Linked DNA regions of Homo sapiens: region 1 is linked to region 2. The links are contacts of gene promoters, found by promoter capture Hi-C in blood cells and fetal thymus (Javierre and others, 2016). All regions are on one chromosome and are shown on one strand. The core of a region is centred on a gene start or on the middle of the fragment in contact, and the rest is flanking DNA. Distances in the headings are between cores, read along the strand shown.

Region 1 (2,700 bases), core at 173-2,672, 530 kb before region 2:
CAATTTCATCACTCCCAAAAAAGAAACGCCATACCCATTAGCAGTCACTCCCCATTCCCCTCCCCCAGCCCCTGGCAACTAGTCATAAAGTTTCTCTGGCTCTATAGATTTGTCTCTTCTGGATATTTCACATAAGTGGAATTGTCCAACATGTGGCCATTCATGACTGGCTTCTCTCAGCATAATGCTTTCAAGATTGATGTTGCAGCGTATCATCAGCACTTTATTTTTATGGCCCCATAACATTCCATTATATAGATGTGGTGTTTCCTCCTGCCAAACAGGGCTGGTTGGGATTCCAAAGAAGCACTATGGCCGGGCGCAGTGGCTCATGCCTGTAATCCCAACGCTTTGGGAGGTCGAGGTGGGTGGATCAACTGAGGTCAGGAGTTCGAGACCAGCCTGACCAACATGGTGAAACCCCGCCTCTGCTAAAAATACAAAATAGCTGGGCGTGGTGGCTGGCGCGTGTAGTCCCAGCTACACGGGGAGCTGAGGCAGGAGAATCGCTTGAACCCGGGAGGCGGAGGTTGCAGTGAGCCGAGATCGAGCCACTGTACTCCAGCCTGGGGGACAGAGCAAGACTCTGTCTCAAAAAAGCAGCATTAAACCCAAAACATTTATTAGGGAAGCTTACAGAGTGGGCTGCAGCAATTCTCGCGACAGACAGAGAGAAGCGGTGTTTCACCTAGGTACATCCCCAGCGAGGGGTCAGGGTATGAAGTTTATATGAGGGTTTATGGAATTTGGCTAAAAGCAGGGGTCAGTTTCAGCGTTTTGGGCAATAACCTAGATATCCTTAGTGCCTAGGGATATGCAAGGCCCGTGTTTGGTTGCAAGTCTGCAGGAAAAAACTTGCAGCTGGCTGGGTCACAGGGCGGTCAAGGCACTCTGATACTTGGTCAGTGCACAGAAAGCGGGGGAACTCGGGAACCGCGCACATAGTACTATATTTTATTTATCCATTCACCAATGGATGGACGTTTGGGTTGCTTTCACTTTTTGGCTATTATGAATAACACTGCTGTGAACATTCATGGACAAGTTTTTATATATACATAGGTTTCATTTCTTTGGCGTATTTTATATATATATATATATTTACCTAGGAGAATTGCTGGGTCAAATGGTAATTGTTTAACCTTTTGAGGAACTGCCAGACTGTCTTCCACAGCAGGTGCTTCATTTTACAGTCCCATGAGCAGTGTATGAGGGTTCCAGTTTCTGCACAGTCTCAAGGCACAGACAAATTTTCAGCAGCCCCGGGGATTGGGAGCGGTGGTTACCTCTGCGGAACGTGCCCCGACAGCCAAGCCCTGCGCGCAGGCGCACTGGTGGGAGGGCGGGAACGCGGGAGCGTCGCCGGAGGTGGGGCGTGCAGGCGTTAGGGGCGGGGCTGTGCTGCGCGCGCGTCCCGGAAGCAGAAGCCTGTGTGGCCTTCCCGGCGGCTGATTCGAGGGCTTGTTTGGTCAGAAGGGGGGCGTCAGAGAAGCTGCCCCTTAGCCAACCATGCCGTCTGAGGGTCGCTGCTGGGAGACCTTGAAGGCCCTACGCAGTTCCGACAAAGGTCGCCTTTGCTACTACCGCGACTGGCTGCTGCGGCGCGAGGTGAGCGGTGGCCCCGGAGGACGTAGGCCTTTCCGGCCCCTCGCGACCGAAACCTTCTCCCTAGCCGTTGGCACGTTCTGCTCCCGGGAACCCGTGCAGTCTAACAACCTGCATTTATTTCTTGACTTCTGTGTGTACATCCCTCTGTCCTGGGGTTTCTGTCCTCTTCAGCCTATTTTAGCGTTTCGGGGAGCTCCCCTGACTTCACAGGTGCCCCGCGCTCTGAAGGCTTCATTGCTACCCTCCGCCAGTTGGGCGCCTTCTCCGTTCTGCTGTTGTCAAAGCAATCTCGGCCCCAGGTTCAGTTAACTTACTGTATGTCTCATGTGCTGGGAGCTCTAGAGTTTGCGACGAACGATTGACACGACCTAATCCATTGCTACTAGTGAAATGACCAAATTTTTAGATTGATTTGGCAGACCTGGAAAGTGAATGGGGGCGTGGTCACCGTACCTAGCATTTGCAAAGCTCTGCGCGAGAAGTGGAGGGATGTGGAGAGTTAAGGCCGAGCTCCCATTCCCGAGTCGCTGCTAGTTAGCTACAGATAAGGCGTTGTCCTGCATCCTCAGACTTCTTGGGAAACAATCCTAAAGTATTTCCCTGTCTTTTATGTTGTTGACAGTTTTGAAAAATACAGACCTTACATTCTGTAGGTTGACTGCCAGCATATGTGCTTTCAAACCACCAGACCAAGGTTAAGCATTCTTGGCAGGAATACCACAGAAATGATGCCATGGCTTTCTCAGTAAGTCACATGAGGAGGCACACAGATGTCAACCCATCCCAACACTGGTGATGCTAATCTTGATCACCTGGTTACGTTATTATCTGCCTGGTCTCTCCGTTTAAAATTCGTCATTTTTCCCTTAGTAATTGTTGGGAAGTAATAATACCAGTATCCTTTTTTCTGGGCAAACCTTAATCCTCCATGGCTTTAGCATTCATTGATGTTTTCCACATGAATCGATACCTCTATGACGTTGCCAGATCCTGTTTCTTTATATCCGCTATTCCTTCTGCATTTGTTAGTTGGCATTCTACTGTAAGGAGGTGCTTTCTATTTTATTCAGTGAGTTGTAATCCATTACTTTT
Region 2 (2,828 bases), core at 161-2,660:
CCACATTCCCCCATTAGAGTAACCATCACAGGGGATTGTGATTAAGTATCTGCTCCCCAGACAATGAGCTCCCTGGTGCCACCACATACCTGTCTCTTGTCCACCACTGAGCTCCCATGTCCAGCCAAAGGATTGGCACACTTAATTAGTTGAATGAATGAAGGAATGTGGCTTTACCGACAATTGTAATTTTCCTTTTTTTTTTTTTTTGAAATGGAGTCTTGCTCTGTCACCCAGGTTGGAGTGCAGTGGCGCAATCTCGGCTCACTGCAACCTCCACCTCCCAGTTTCAAGCGATTCTGCTGCCTCAGCCTCCTGAATAGCTGGGACTACAGGCACACGCCACAATGCTGGGCTAATTTTTATATTTTTAGTAAAGATGGGGTTTCACCATGTTGGGCAGGATTGTCTCGATCTCCTGACCTCATGATCCACCTGCCTTGGCCTCTCAAAGTGCTGGGATTACAGGCGTGAGCCACTGCTCCCGGGCTTTTTTTTTTTTTTTTTTTTTGAGATGGAGTCTGGCTCTGTTGCCCAGGCTGGAGTGCAGTGGCGTGATCTTGGTTAACTGCAATCTCCTCCTCCCGGCTCAAGCAATTCTCCTGCCTCAGCCTCCCAAGTAGCTGGGATTATAGGTGTGTGCCACCACGCCCAGCTAGCTTTTTTATTTTTAGTAGAGACCGGTTTTCACCATTTTGGCCAGGCTGGTCTCGAACTCCTGACCTCATGTGATCCACTCACCTCAGCCTCCCAAAGTGCTGGGAATAGAGGCATGAGCCACTGCTACCGGCCGACGATTACAATTTTAAAACGTAGTTGTGCCCAGCTCTTCGCAGTTATGGAAGGGCTGATACACCGTCCTCTTTCCATCCTCACCAAAGCCCTATGATTTGGGAAAGGGAAGATTTTATCCCTATTTCTTTTTTTCTTTTTGAGACGGAGTCTCGCCCTTTGGCCCAGGTTGGAGTGCAATGGGTGGATCTCAGCTCACTGCAACCTCTGCCTCCCGGGTTCAAGAGATTCTCCTGCCTCAGCCTCCTGAGTAGCTGGGATTACAGGTGTGTGCTACCAAGCTTGGCTAATTTTTTTTTTTAATCTTTAGTGGAGACAGGGTTTCACCAGGTTGGCCAGGCTGGTCTCGAACTCCTGACCTCGTGATCCACCCACCTCGGCCTCCCAAACTGCTAGGATTACAGGCGTGAGCCACCGCGCCCGGCCTCATCCCTATTTCATAGAGGGGTAAGCTCTAGAGAGCTGAAGTGGCAACACTTGATTCTATCTCAGGTCGGCCTGATCTCAATCCTGGTATTTAGTGTAAGACCCAGATAGGTGGCCAGAACTGAAGACCCCTTGACTCCAGCTCTCAGAGAGACACTGTCTAGCGGCGAGACCTGGCACTTTTGCAAACAACTCCAGAACAAGGGGGAGAGTGGCGACAGTATAAGAGCATGCTGCGGGAAGTCAGGGGCGGTAGTATTTGAAAATGGGCGCTTGGAGAGTGGGAAGGATTTGTCCTTGTGTGGAACAAGAATAGAGGATCCTAATACGAGGGCTCAGCCTGCTTTGGCGTACTCCAAGAAAGCCCCTTGGAGGTCTGACTGCTCCGCTTCAGCCCCTTTAAGAATGGCCCCGCCCCACCCAGCCGCCCATGTCGATCTAATCTGAATGACCAATAGTAGAAGAGAAGAGACCACTTTCGCGCTTCAACCGCACTAGGAGGAGGGGAAGAGGGCGGGAGAGGCGGAATATAAGCTTGGTCACATGACCCGCCTAATTGGCCAGAGGCTGCGGCGGCCCTGAGAGACTCAGCGATGCTCATTGGCCAGAAGAGGGTGGGGGCTTGGCGCTAGGCCACGCCCCCGGGCGGCCGGTTTGGTTGCGCAGCCGCCGGGGAAGGAGACGCTGCCCTTCCGCAGCGATGGCATCCCGGGTGAGTATCGGCCCCGGCCGAGCCCCCAAGGCGGGCGGGCAGCGCGGCAGGGCCGGGACTTGAGCGGAGGACCGAGTAGGCGCAGGTGTCCGGGCCCAACAGGACCAGGAAGGTGTCGGGGTTGGAATGAGTGGGTACCCGGGCCGGGGACGGTGCGAGAGGGTGCCTTGCTTGGGAGCGGAACGAGAAGGTACTTGGGTCAGGGAGGTGATGCCCGGGCCTGGAACGTGGCGGGGATTGGAGCAGGCGCGCAGGTACCCGATCCGAGGCGGGGAGAGCACCCGGGATGGAAGGAGCAGGCGTGCGGGCCGTGAGCGGCGCCAGAGGGTACCTGGGTGAGTTTCAATGATATTCCGGGGTGGGGGCAAGAGAAGAAGGGGCTGCCCAAGATGCCTGGGGTGGAGTGAGCAATTTCTGAAGACGGGGATATTGCTGAGGTCCAACGCGGGGATGCCCGGTGCCCGGCATGGTGGGACTATTGAGGGGTCCGGCATGGGGTGAATAGGAGACTGGGCAGAGTGGCTCAAGGGAGTCGGGGACGTTGTTGGGGTCCAGACGGAATGAGTGAGTGCACAGGCCAGAGTCATTAGTGGGGTGGTCTAGCGCAGGGGAGGAGGCGCGTAGGATGATATGCTTAGGCACCCAGGCTGAGGGTGCTGTAAGTGCTGTGGTGACGGTGGAATGAGGAGGTGTCCGCCTAAGATTGTAGGGCACAAGAGATGGCTGCCCAAGTGGGGCCAGGCCCTACACAGCAGTAGAAGTGTCCATTTGGTAGGGGACCTTGCCGTGGGCTTTTCATTGTGGAGAGGAGGTGGAGGGGTCTCAGCTTAGGCCCTGGAGGACGGACAGGGTGCCAGGGGGACGGACACAGTGTGGGTTGACTGGATTTGGATCCATC

What was found. Contacts are between HindIII fragments. The CHiCAGO score rates a contact against its expected background, and 5 or more counts as called.
Region 1: the fragment with the promoter of GLE1 here is called in contact with a fragment that was not itself captured in region 2 in 1 of 17 cell types (naive CD4 T cells); the score reaches 5.0 in naive CD4 T cells.

What each region holds. Positions count from the first base shown.
Region 1 is chr9:128,503,297-128,505,996 of GRCh38, forward strand. It overlaps GLE1 (GLE1 RNA export mediator), which reads left to right and starts at 1,423. Exons shown (of 16, transcript NM_001003722.2): 1 at 1,423-1,608. The coding sequence starts at 1,510. RefSeq lists a silencer at 1,234-1,443 and an enhancer at 1,664-1,823. The HindIII fragment of the contact is 2,110 bases long and covers 631-2,700 here.
Region 2 is chr9:129,034,752-129,037,579 of GRCh38, forward strand. It overlaps MIGA2 (mitoguardin 2), which reads left to right and starts at 1,875. Exons shown (of 16, transcript NM_001329990.2): 1 at 1,875-1,930. RefSeq lists a silencer at 1,860-1,989 and an enhancer at 2,330-2,459. The HindIII fragment of the contact is 679 bases long and covers 1,072-1,750 here.